Regions from separate parts of the Homo sapiens genome. Here region 1 is linked to region 2. Evidence: promoter capture Hi-C in 16 types of primary human blood cells and fetal thymus (Javierre and others, 2016). All regions are on one chromosome and are shown on one strand. The core of a region is centred on a gene start or on the middle of the fragment in contact, and the rest is flanking DNA. Distances in the headings are between cores, read along the strand shown.

Region 1 (7,248 bases), core at 1,797-4,296, 1.0 Mb before region 2:
CACGGGGCCCCACAGGCCCCTTTCCGGAATCAGGGCCCGGAGCAGCGAACGCGACCCACCTCCCACGGGCTAGGCACAGAGCTGGGACGCTGGCCCACGAGGGCCCCCCCAGGCGCCCCCCAACTGCCTCCCGGGCGCCCCCCAACACGGCTCCCGTTTGGCCATTTCTCCCGCAGGAGCCTCCCCCACAGCCGTCTCTCGGTACCGAAACCGTCGAGGGCTGCGCGCGGGCGCCTGCAAAGCTGGCTGGGAAGCGGTCAGCGCGGTTCTCCTCCAGACGATCTGACGGTGCCTCTGGAGCCAGCCCCTCAGCCCTTGGTCCGGCCTGGCCCGCACCAGTCACCGCCTCCCCATAGCCAGGGATCTCGGGCACTGCGCACCTCTCTCTAGCGCCCGGCTCCGAACGGATCGTCTCCTCGTTGCCAGGCTGTCAGGGTCCGGGGGGCAGGTTGCCAGCCGGTCCACCCTGGCGGACCACCCCCACACCACGGCCCCCCACCTCACGCACCCCTACTTGCCTTCAGAGGCCCAGAGCCCAGGTCATCGGCCTCCCCCTCCTCTCTTCAGCTCTCCTCTGGCTGCTCTTCAGTTGGATTCCCACCGCTTTCCCAGCGATCCGAATGGCAAAGACGAGTCCCGCCCCCCACGCCTCTGCACCAAACTGGGCAGGGGCTGCGCAGGATGCGGCAAGAACCGCTCTCCGCGAGGGTGTCGGGAAGGGGGGCGGAGGGATACGGCGCGAAAGTGCAGGACGCCCCCCCTCACAGAACCACCATAGTTCCGACCCAGAGGTGGGCGGGGCCAGGACGAGCCCCAGCCGGGGCCTGCGGGTTGGCACCAGGCTGCCTCAGGAGGACCCCGCGGACCCTAACGTGGCGACGACCACCACATTTCTGGCGCTGCTATAATATATGGCACCGGCGGGCGGCTGCGGGGCCGGGCGGAGGACAGGATCGCGAGGTCGCGAAGAGCCGCGCTGGAGGGAGCAGCGGATGGATACCAAACCGTCCCTTGGTGTGTCTGCACCCCCGCCCCAACCGCCCCCCTATAAGGACTGCTGGGTGTTTGCCCTCTCCCCCTCCCTAGTCTGCTCACCCTCCTTCCTGGATGTTAATGGGAGAGGGGGTGTCAGCACTGCAGTGTGGGAGGGGAGAGGCGATTTCAGTCCAGACAGGCCCGGGGTTCTAGGGTGGTCGTCCTGTGCGTTTCTTTCCCAGCTTCGTGGAGCCACGCAGGGGAGGAAGGTACACCTGCTCTTAAGTGAACTCCGGGGCAGGGGGCTCCCATCAAGGACTCACCACTGCCCCTCTTCTAAAAGAAGGTAGACCTAGACCTCTAACCCTAGGAAACCAACCACTGGTCTGCACCAGACTCATTTCTTTCTGCCACACCGCTGTTTCTCATTTCAAATGGTGGCTCACGTTGGCATTGCACCGTCCCCACAGTTGCCCCCAAAAGAGGACCTTTCCCTGTCAGGACCCGCAGGAGGTCATAACAGTCCTCTCTCTTTGATGCCGCCAGGTAGGGATGGTCCTGGCTTCTCTTCGGTTCCCTGTCAAGTCTTCTCTTGCCATGATATTTGGCAGTGTGGAAATGTGGCTGGTATCAAACCAGCTTGGATCTCCGCCACCTGCCACAACTACCTATTGTTTCAGCAGTCATTCTCAGGAGAGGATCCCACCGTGCACCCCCCTCCCCGAGACAAAGCAACCTGGCTCATTTGAATCCTCTTCTTTCACCCCCACATCCGTCCTCTACTCTTGAGCCCCTCCTTTCCCTGCTTCCTGCATGGGACAGACAGAGCAATGTGGTTAAACACCAAGTTGATGTTGTTACTGTTGTCCATTTGAAAACTCATTTAGACACTACCCTCATTGTGTTTGGCAGGTAACGGTCCCCTAAAGATGTCCATGTCCTGTTCTCCAGAACATGTACCATTTTATATTACCTGACAAAGGATCATTAAGATTGCTATTCAGCTGAGTTTAATTTAAGATTATTCTGGGTTATCTTGGCCAATGTAATTGCAAGGGTACTTTAGATGTGGAAGGCAGGGACTCCATGTCAGATTGAAGCAGCATAGAAAGTCTACACTGGTCATCGTTGGCTTTGAAGATGGAAGGAAGCCAAGATCCAAGAAATACAGGCTGTCTCCAGAACCTGGAAAAGACAAAGAAACAGATTCTTCCCTAGAAATGCCAGAGGGATAGCTCCTCTGGCAACATCTTGATTTTAGTGTGGTGAAGCCCTTTGAAGATTTCCAACCTTCCAGGACTGTAAGATAATAATAAATTGGTATTATTTTAAGCCATTCCATGTATGGTAACTGGTTACAGGGTAGCAGCACCAGACCTATCTGGTTTAACTTTTATATAACAAAGTTGTGCATTGTCTTTCAGTTGCCGGGGACCCTCAGATCATGTTACCTGAGCATCCTCAGATGAACCAAGCATGCAATCAGAGGGAGAATGTAAGTGTTTTGAATTAGGACCAGGGCTGAATTAAGAAGTGGACACTGGATGGCAGGATCCAGTCAGATCATGCCTCTCAGCATCACCTCATTGTAAGATCCAAAGCCATCAGGATATACCCTTAATACCCAATGCTTATGAAAACCTGACCCAGCCCCCATCTCAGGGAGACATTATTTTGGGAAGTATCCCTGGTGGTCTCATTACTTCGTTACAAGTAATAAATCCCCTTACTAAATCCTTGCTGTGATCATGGGGTTGATGTCAAACGACTGAACCCACCCACTGTGTTGGTTGGTAACAATAGCAGGAGTAGGAACAGAATACACTCACCATCCTGATGAATTCTATTCCCATTGCCTTTCTTTACCTGTGCTTCAGTCTCTGAGAAATATTTTAGGGCTCATCTCACCAATACAGCCACCAATCCCCTTTACTGTTTTATAATTATGTCCAAAATCACATTTGCACAAGCTTCTGTGGTAATTCTGCAGGTGCTAGGATCTTTATTCCAAGATATTTACTGACAGAGGAATGGTTCTACCAAAAGCTGACAAATTTTACTGTGTGAGACTTTAAAATGTGTGTTGGACAATTTGTTGTCAGTACTCTTAGAAAACATGGTCTTGTATTGGTTAGTATGTATTGAAGTGATAAAGGCCCTACTTTAAGCTTTTCATATGTTAGCTTTGTATGGGTATGTATCAAATAGATTATTATTTTTAAAACCTTTGAGCAAATAAAAGATTGAAATAAGATACTCTGACTGCTAAGCACTATTTATTTCCTCCTATAATTGATTCTAGTTCAATAAATTGCAACAGTCATCTTTCTACTCCTCAGTGCCTACACTAGCACCTGTGTAACCCTGACTTACCACTGAAATCTAAATGTCAGAGCCAAATAATCCATAAGCATTAAGTCCATGATACAGATGCAACTGTGCTCACTCATCATACTCACTGTTTTCTTCCAAATCCCACCCACCACCCCCAAGCATGCTCATGAACTTGCACACCAGCCTATCACTTGCCTGTTCTCCTCTTGTCTGTCTCAATCACCATGGTCATGGACTTGTTTTTGCCTATTTAGTTTTACTTGCCTCTATACTGTCCTTTATGGGCCTCAAGCAAAGCTTCCTTCTGAGACTTCTCTTTTGGTCGAGGCTGAGCCAAACCCTGTGTTTTCTTATAATGTATCCCCTTCTTCTATCTCAAAGTTTCAAAGGTTGTACACAGAAATTAAAGTCCCCTGTAGTCAGGAATAACTAGGCTGAGGTTGGTCTGGTGAACTATATGGTGAAATTGGCCCAACAGATGTCTATTTTCAGTGTAGCCTGAAAATGCTATGGGAAAGATCTCAGCCTGTCTCTACTTCTTGAGACAGGGTACATTTGCAGAACTGGTGGGGAGGCCTGGCCCAAGAATATTTTCAGGTCATATTTGGGGTGGGGTCTACTTCAAGAGAATTAATCTTGAAGAAAAACCAAGTCACGCACAAGGACCCTAGCCCATGAACAATGCCTTGCCATTAGGGAAGTATAGATATTCTAATAGCAACACTGAAATTATTATAGAACTCCTATTTGTGCCTATTCCAACACAAACCCTCAACTGTATATCTGTCATAGCAAAGGCAGGTTTATACATATCCAGGAAATAACTGTCTTTAAGTAAACTCTGTAATGCTCCAGTGTAAGGAACCCATTAATAAAGCATAACCTAAAGAGAGGAAAATATCCTCCTTTCTAACATGGATTTAAACTTTTGACTACTACTCAGATCTGACATCATGAAAACCCTGTGTATAGGTGGAGTTAGGAAATTAGAGAGAACAGTTAATTAGAGGACATTAAATGCCTGGCAATACAGCTTAGAATGGCAGCAACAACTGGAAGAATCACAGGAAAACCCCAAAAATTCAGGACATAGGAAATACCCCTTGAGGATTTTTAGAACTATAGGAGCTGGCAAGGAGAGCTAATTAGCTTTACAGGGAGAAGAAAACCTGAATTTCCACAATGTCAATAAATATTAGAAATTAATGGAATGTCAAATTGCTTTCTATAATAGAAAAAATAATGAGAAAACTACACTACCTTTTGTTGTTGTTTCTCATTAACTAACCATCACTTCCTGCCTCATCATGATAGGGCCTCACCACAGCCTGCATCCAGCCAGCAAATGAGAAAAAGGAGAATAGAAGTAGTTGATTTCCTTCTTAAAATCCATGGTGAGGAAATGCTCACATCATTTCCACTCACATTCCATTGATGGGACTTGATATGGTTTGACTGTGTCCCCACCCAAGTCTCAACTCGAATTGTAACTCCCAGAATTCCCACATGTTGTGAGAGGGACCCAGGGGGAGGTAATTGAATCATGGGGGCCAGTCTTTCCAGTGCTATTCTCATGATAGTGAATAAGTCTCACAAAATCTGATGGGTTTATCAGGGGGTTCTATTTTTGCTTCTTCCTCATTTTTATATTGTCACTGCCATGTAAGAAGTGCCTTTTACCTCCTGCCATGATTCTGAGGCCTCCCCAGCCATGTGGAACTGTAAGTCCAATTAAACCTCTTTTTCTTCCCAGTCTCGGGTATGTCTTTATCAGCAGCGTGAAAACAAACTAATACAGTAAATTGGTACCGGTAGAGTGGGGTGTTGCTCAAAAGACACCCCAAAATATGGAAGCGACTTTGAAACTGGGTAACAGGCAGAGGTTGGAACAGGGCTCAGAAGAAGACAGGAAAATGTGGGAAAGTTTGGAACTTCCTAGACACTTGTTGAATGGCTTTGCCCAAAATGTTGATAGTGATATGGAAAATAAAATTCAGGCTGAGGTGGTCTCAGATGGAGATGAGGGACTTGTTGGGAACTGGAGCAAAGGTGACGCTTGTTATGTTTTGGCAAAGAGACTGGCAGCATTTTGCCCCTGCCCTAGAGATTTGTAGAACTTTGAACTTCAGAGAGATGATTTAAGGTATCTGGCAGAAGAAATTTCTAAGCAGCAAAGCATTCAAGAGGTAACTTGGATGCTGTTAAAGGCATTCAGTTTTATAAGAGAAGCAGAGCATAAAAGTTTGGAAAATTTGCAGGCTGACTATGCGATAAGAAAGAAAAACCCATTTTATGGGAAGAAATTCAAGCCAGCTGCAGAAATTTGCATAAGTAGCAAGCAGCCTAATGTTAATCCCCAAGACCATGGGAAAAATGTCTCCAGGCCATGTCGGAGAACTTCCCAGTAGTCCCTCCCATCACAGGCCTGGAGGCCCAGGAGGAAAAGTGTTCTTGTGGGCTGGGCACAAGGCCCCCATGCTGTGTGCAGCCTGGGCACTTGGTGCCCTGTGTCCCAGCTGCTCCAGCTGTGGCTGAAAGGGGCCAACATACAGCTTGGGCTGTGGCTTCAGAGGGTGGAAGCCGCAAGCCTTGGCAGCTTCCACGTGGTGTTGAGCATGCAGGTGTACAGAAGTCAAGAACTGAGGTTTGGGAACCTCTGCCTATATTTCAGAAGATGTAAGAAACGCTTGGATGCCCAGGTAAAAGTTTGCTGCAGGGGTGGGGCCCTCATGGAGAACCTCTGCTAGGGCAGTGCAGAAGGGAAATGTGGGGTCAGAACCCTCACACAGAGTCCCTACTGAGGCACCACCTAGTGGAGCTGTGAGAAGAGGGCCACCATCCTCCAGACCCCAGAATGATAGATCCACTGACGGCTTGCACTGTGTGCGTGGAAAAGCCACAGATAATGCCAACCCATGTAAGCAGCCAGGAGGGAGGCTGTACCCTGCAAAGCCACAGGGCAGAGCTGCCCAAGACTGTGGGAACCCACTTTTTGCATCTGCATGACCTGGATGTGAGACCTAGAGTTGAAGGAGATCATTTTGGAGCTTTAAAATTTGACTGCCCCACTGGATTTCAGACTTGCATGGGCCCTGTAACCCCTTTGTTTTGGCCAATTTCTCCCATTTGGAATGGTTGTATTTACCCAATACCTACACCCCCGTTTTATCCAGGAAGTAACTAGATTGATTTTGATTTTACAAGCTCATAGGCAGAAGGGACTTGCCTTGTCTCATATGAGACTTTGGACTGTGGACTTTTGGGTTGATGCTGAAATGAGTTAAGACTTTGGGGGATTGCTGGGAAGACATAATTGGTTTTAAAATGTGAGGAAATGAGATTTGGAGGGGCCAGGGGTGAAATGATATGGTTTGGCCATGTCCCCACCAAAATCTCAACTCGAATTGTATCTCCCAGAATTCCCACGTGTTATGGTAAGGACCCAGAGGGAGGTAATTGAATCAGGGATTGGTCTCTCCCGTGTTATTCTTGTGATAGTGAATAAGACTCACAAAATCTTATGGGCTTATCAGGGGTTTCTGATTTTGTTTCTTCCTCATTTTTCTCTTGCTCCCGCTGTGTAAGAAGTGCCTTTTACCTCCTGCCATAATTCTGAGGCCTCCTGAGCCATGTGGAACTGTAAGTCCAATTAAACCTCTTTTTGTTCCCAGTTTCGGGTACATCTTTATCAGCAGCATGAAAACAAACTAATAGAGGACGCAATCACCATTTATTAAAAATCTTGTCCGTTCTCTATATGTGGTGGTGGTAATGAGAGAACCAGATATCCACAGATAAAAGAATAAAGTTGTCTCAGCAAACTAAAAATAGAGGAGAACTTCCTCAACTTGATAAAGGATATTTACCAAAAACCTACAGCTAACATCATACTTAATGGTGAGAAACTTGATTTATCAGTAAGATCAGGAATGAGGCAGA
Region 2 (6,450 bases), core at 997-3,496:
TAGTTTTTTTTTTAATGCTAGTCTCCAGGTAGGAATTGATAGAATCGTGGATCAGAAGAACAAAGAGGTAAGAGAATTGAAAGGGTTTTTATAACCATGGGGTTTTAGGAAGTTTTAGACAGGGAGTGGATTCAAACCAGGAAAGGTCTGGCATACTGGGAGAATGGTAGTGAGAAGTTATACATCGGACTAACTGGAGAATATACCAAAAGGGTGGAGATATTTTATACTACTGAGGAGAGGTAGGAGTAAAGTTTTTGTCCTTGAAGCCTGGCTAAGTGTTGTGAAAGTGAGTTCTTATTGTAAAGCCATGTCTGTGACACCAAGTCATCTGTCTTTATTAAGCTTTACATACTCCTTAGTTTTTTCTAATGTATATATTCAAAACAAACAAAAGCCACTTATACAACTACCTAGCAGCCAAACACTGAATGATGGACTGTTGAATCTGAGAGTTCTGTTAGTAAGCCTTCATAAGTATAATTCACTTGTCTAGGGGAAGTTAATAAAGGGTCATGAAAAAAAAATGAGGTAAAGATTTAGAGAGATAAGATGTGATATTGGTGAGTTTGGACTATAAAAGGGGAAGACCAGAAAGTTGTGACATATTGACTTCTGAATATTCACCAGCAAGGCACTAGGACTCCCTGGCTTGCCTCCTGAAAGGGCCTCCTCCACACAGGAGCCCCTCACTGGGGAGCCCCTCCCTCTGGGGTGTCATATTTCAATGTTCTAAGAGGTTGCCTGGAGTGTCTATATTTAGAGTATGACTCCTCAGCAGGGACAGGTGGATGCATGAGGACTAACTTCTGCATACTTGGTCCCTGAGTTTTGGGATTATTCTGAGGGGCTTGTACTGGTGGCTCAATGAAGTTGTAATAGAAGGCAGGAAATGAAAAGTCCTCTTTTTTTCTGGCAACTGCTTGAGATCCTGTGCATTGCCCTTCCACTTGTGAGGGGAAAAAATGACACAGACATCAGGGGTGTTGCACTGATTCCCAGTCACCCACAGACCCTCACCACCATCTCCACTGGAAAATGCTGAACACTCACCACTGCTAGGGTAGCATAAAATACATGAATGGCAGACAACAGAGAGATCGCCAACAGTGTCATGATGGAAAGAAAATTACCTCTATCAAGTCTCATTTTCATCAATAGGATAACAGGAAATTCTCTAATTTCTGGAAGATTTATAGGTTGCACCACAAACTTCAGAATAGATTGTAAATAAAGCCCTGTGAATGAAAGGCAGGCTAATCTGTGGAGTCACTAATCTGTAAAGTTCATCTGAAGATGTAAGATTCATCTGAAGTTGGGGTCTGCATAAAATCTGTCCTTTGAAGCCAGAGTGAAAGTCACCCAGCAATCTTCTATGAAGATCTCAGTCATCTGACACCTAATACTATGAGTTCAGCCAGGAGAAAGAAAGGGACAATAGTTCACTTACTTAAAATGGTCAAAATTAGAACACTGACCTTCTCGGTATAGATTCATTTATCCATCAATTTATAAATCATGTTGAAAGCACAACTGGTTTTGTTTCTAAGGGTGTGTTTTTACATTTTAATATGTTGTTTGAAAGCTGCTATTTCCTGTGCAGTCCGAAGAAAATATGTTCAACTTGATACAAACTAACTTCATCAAATCAATGAGGCCTCCTATTAACTGGGAAATCTTGCTTATGTTATATATATATATATCTGTAAAAAAAAAAAAAGATTTGAATTATTTCTTCTCCAAGTGGGAAAAGCTTTATTGTTTTTTTCCGATTACAAAATAGTGTAGTTCAAGTCAATAAAAAAGAAAGGACAAAATATAACTTAAATGTTATCAAAATACTAATTAAAATCTCACCACTGCCTGGACTTCCGTTTCTGCCCCCTCACCCAATGTTGGTGTAGAGACTGAACACGGAAAAGTGTAGAAATTTAAGAAAGGGGCTGCAGAAGTTTCAGAGCCAAGGAAAGGATGAGACAATTCCCCAAGAAGTGTAAATGAAGGGTAGACTCAGGAAAAGATGCTGCCCCTTCCTAAAGATGCTGCCCCTTCCTGGAATTAGAGAAACATAAATTCAAACACCAGAAAGACAGGGCCACTTCTGGTTTCTGGTATTGTTACAGAGGAAAAAAGTGACAGGGCCCACTGTGGGGGTTGAGGGGGAGATACAAGGCAGGCTGGCGCCTGCCGCACTGCTTGTGGGAGTGGAAATTGGGGGCCAGAGCGCACTGGTGACGTGGCCGTCACGTGACCAAGAGCCGCCTAGAGCACAAGTCCTGCTAGTCGCCTCCGTCTGGGTACCAGCCCCCTATTACTCTGCAGGCGTGTGAAGAAAGAAGGAAACTAGCTCGGACCGTGCAGGTCGGTGCGAGGGTGGGCGCTGCTTGAGAGGAGGTATGGGTGGAAGAGGGCCAAGAACGCCACAGATCCGAGTTCAGGCCGATCACAGCTGGGTCCCTTTCTCGCCTACTTTCTAAATACTGCTACCCACCCCCACCCCACCCCGTGCTCATTTTAGTAGAGAGAAGTGGCGGGTTTCGGGTGGGGGTGAGGGGAGTGAATGGCGTTTCCAGAGACTCCGAGAAAAGAAAGGTTCTAGTGTCCCGGGTGCTGGTCCGTCCACCAAGCACTCCGTCCCCTCGGTCCCTTGTCTGTTTGCAGGTTTGTAGGTCTGTTGGCCTGTAGGTTTCGGCACAAGTTTCAGCGAGAGAAGGAGAAAACTGCCTTGGTTGGAACCTTGCAGGTCAGTGTGAAGGTGGGATTAGCCCAGGACCATGGGTGGGGGTGGCGGAGGAGGGGGGCTGGGATATGAGAGGGCCAGGTCCGAGTCGCCCTCTCCTGGCCCCTTCTTTCTCCACACCCACTCCCATTTCAGTGCAGGGAAAGGGGTGTGGCGGCCTTTGCTGGGGAAATGGCGGACGACAAGTGGGGCGGAGGAGGCCTGCGTCCGGAAAGTCAGTAGAGTATGAGAAATATTTTAAACTCAAGTGTCTAAAATTCACAAAAACAGAAATTGGGACCTGTGTCCTCAGTTCATCCACTACACTTTCATTTCTCCATTGCCGCCTACCTGTCTTTGCATTTGTCCTTCTGCCAGACTCTATCCTCTATCACCGTGGAGGGACCACTGACAACAGAAGACAAGGGAAAACGAAGGAATTTATCTGACTTTGGTAGAGGTTAATGAGAGAAACTGCCCTTAATCTTTGGGGGTGGAGGTCTGGTGTAGGAGACTACCTGAGAGGTACTCACACTGTCACCCTCCTAGCTATCATAGCAGAGACCCATCTCCTGCCCTTCCCTGTGGACCCAGGAAGAGAAATGGGGGCTCCTGAGGTCGATAGAGGAAGACAGAAAAGAAAAGAACAAAGAAATTGTATCCTGTTAATCTGCCTTTATCACCAACTCGAAATCCACCCTGTCTGTGAGGCACAAAGCCAAACATAGTCCCGAGCCCTAATACTCTGTTTCACCCACAGATTCATCACAAGAGAGCTACAAGAGCCTGGAAGAAGCTGAAGACTGCTACCCTCCATCCTTACTCACCCTGGACCTGAGAGACCTCTTCAATCAGGTGGAGCAAGGCCCTCTCCTGTCCTGCCCCAAGGCTGGCACAGACTTGAGCATGGGCCGGGCTCGGGAAGTGGGTTGGATGGCGGCAGGACTGATGATTGGGGCTGGTGCCTGCTACTGCGTTTACAAACTGACCATAGGAAGAGATGACAGTGAGAAGCTGGAGGAGGAGGGGGAAGAGGAGTGGGACGATGACCAGGAGCTGGATGAGGAGGAGCCTGATATTTGGTTTGATTTTGAAACTATGGCTCGGCCCTGGACTGAGGATGGGGATTGGACTGAACCTGGGGCCCCAGGTGGCACTGAGGACAGGCCCTCAGGGGGAGGCAAGGCCAACCGAGCACACCCAATAAAACAGCGGCCATTCCCCTATGAACATAAAAATACTTGGAGTGCTCAAAATTGTAAAAATGGCAGTTGTGTTCTGGACCTCTCCAAGTGTCTTTTCATTCAGGGAAAACTGTTGTTTGCCGAGCCCAAGGATGCGGGCTTTCCATTTAGCCAGGATATCAATAGCCATTTGGCCAGCCTCTCAATGGCTAGAAACACGAGCCCCACTCCAGACCCCACTGTTAGAGAGGCTTTGTGTGCCCCGGATAACTTAAATGCGAGTATTGAAAGTCAGGGCCAGATTAAGATGTACATCAATGAAGTGTGTCGGGAGACTGTGTCACGTTGCTGCAACTCATTTCTGCAGCAGGCCGGATTAAATTTGTTAATAAGCATGACAGTTATTAATAACATGCTTGCCAAGTCCGCTTCAGACTTGAAGTTTCCTTTGATATCAGAGGGAAGTGGATGTGCTAAGGTTCAGGTTTTGAAACCGCTGATGGGTTTGTCTGAAAAGCCAGTCTTGGCGGGGGAGTTAGTCGGTGCCCAGATGCTCTTCTCATTCATGTCCCTCTTTATCAGAAATGGAAACAGAGAGATTCTCCTGGAAACCCCTGCCCCATAAACGGCCCTCTCGAACACAATGGGACGGAATCCACCCACAACGCGCTTGGTTTGCAGATGTCAAAGAATCTGCAGAGGGTGCTACTGAAGATCCAGCCTTAGCCAATCACCACCTCATTGGGTGAAAGTTCCAGGGCTCAATCCAGGACCACACTCTTATTGGCCAGGCAGGGGCTCCCACAGAGCTTTGAGTAACTTCTTGGTTGTGCAGTCTGCAGGCAATGTTGGCATTGTAAATTCCTCCCTTGCAGCCTCCTTCATGTGGTGAGGGGATCACTTCAGCTGCCTGCTGTGGACAAAGAACATCAAATTACAGCATCACGAGTGCTATTGTTGCCTGTGGTGGTCTCCCTGTCCAAGCGGGACCGCTTTGCAGAGACCAGAGGCATATCGCGGCTTGAGCTGAAAATGCATTTGTTGCAGCTTAGGTTGAATTATTTTTCGTTTGCTCTTTCTTCTACACGCGCCTGATGGATAGTGAACCTATTCATCAAAAAAGTGCACTGCTCTTCTGTCTATTGTACCGACTTAACCTCTTCCACCCAAGTCCGCATCTGTGTGTATCATCAATAAAGTTGTGTGCTTTGATTGGCAGAAAAGAGTCATGGTCCTTGTCCTTGAGTTTACAGTCTGCACGGAGAGAAGGACAAAAAAAAAAGCACGGTAAACGCCAGCTGACTGGAACGTCTGCTCCGTGACAAATGCAGGCTTATCGGTGCTCACAGGAGGCAGGGATAGAGAGGGGCTGCAGTGCTCAGAATAAACTTCAAGAAGGGGCTGGAGGCGGGGGTGGGGGAAGGGGAGGGGCACAGCGGGGGAGTTCGTGGAATTAGGATGGAATGTTGAGAGGACTGAAAGAGACAACACCCGTGGAGCAGGCAGCACCGTGCCCCGGCACAGAGAAATCCCTTCTTAATGTCTTTTCCTTGACTGCCAGCCTGGAGAGAAAGGTCAGTAACCCTGGCCTTTTCGATTGTCGGCGCATCCCGACGTGGGGATGGGGACCGGGGTGGAACGGGTGGGGGCGCTCTACCACGCATCGGGGCGCATTTATTGCACAATGATGGCGATAAAGGTTGCCGCTTGCCCAGCACCTACCCTGTGTAGTTCTATCCCTCCTGCGAAGCCAGGGGGAAATCTGCTTCCAGCCCTCCTTCTCTCTTCCTTGGGATCCCCAGCGCTACTTCCTGGCAGAGTGAGAGGGTTGGCCGCTGCTCCCTTTGGAGCAACCTCCTTTCTTCCATATCCCCACTACCTGTGGTGGGACCCAGGAAGGGGACAGTGGAGCCCTCCATCAACTACCTGCGGGGGTGATAGGGCAGATGCTGAGGGCACTTGGCACGACCGTGGCCACTCCATCCATCCGGAGACACCTCCACACTCTCCATCTGAGGTGCCTGCACCTTGCCAGGAAAGGAAGAGCCCGTGGGCGCAGAAGCACTCCATGGGTCAGGGCAGCTCGTTCTGCCCCGCCCCCACCTCCAACATTACCAGATCCCGCCCAGCAGGTTTAGCCCCTGAATCAGCAAAGCCAGGTTCCCTGCATGTTTGTGATGTGTCAAGAAGTGGTCCCCTTCCCTAAAGCCATGGCAAACCCAGTAAACACATCTGCTTCCCCTTGGGCAAGGCTGCTGCCGTGCCCGGTGCCCTCTCGGTCTCCCAGGGCTGCTGCTGTGGGTCACTGTGTCCTGGGCAGCTGCGATCTCTGTGGTGCTGGGCATTCTGCTTGTTCTGTTCCACACAGAACAAAGCTTTCTTTTCTTGTCTTATTCTCCCTTCCCCCCGCAGCTTGCCTTCCAGGTGGGTTACAACTTTCCTGCTTGTACCATCTGCCCCACAGTCCATGCTGGCCAGACGGCCTGAGTGCCTGCCGGGTCCCCTGACCAACTCTGGGAAACCCTCCCACCTGGAATGGGGACCAGA

What was found. Contacts are between HindIII fragments. The CHiCAGO score rates a contact against its expected background, and 5 or more counts as called.
Region 1: a contact is called between a fragment that was not itself captured here and the fragment with the promoter of ARMCX6 in region 2, in 1 of 17 cell types (total CD8 T cells). The highest score is 5.7, in total CD8 T cells.

Annotation. Positions count from the first base shown.
Region 1 is chrX:102,644,866-102,652,113 of GRCh38, reverse strand. The region is part of intron 4 of ARMCX5-GPRASP2 (ARMCX5-GPRASP2 readthrough); the gene reads right to left. GPRASP1 (G protein-coupled receptor associated sorting protein 1) reads right to left here and starts at 631. Exons shown (of 6, transcript NM_001184727.2): 1 at 519-631; 2 at 381-427. The HindIII fragment of the contact is 198 bases long and covers 2,948-3,145 here.
Region 2 is chrX:101,613,796-101,620,245 of GRCh38, reverse strand. ARMCX6 (armadillo repeat containing X-linked 6) reads left to right here and starts at 2,246. Exons shown (of 3, transcript NM_019007.4): 1 at 2,246-2,361; 2 at 2,662-2,743; 3 at 3,480-5,121. The coding sequence starts at 3,626. The coding sequence ends at 4,528. RefSeq lists an enhancer at 6,075-6,450. The HindIII fragment of the contact is 4,525 bases long and covers 1,756-6,280 here.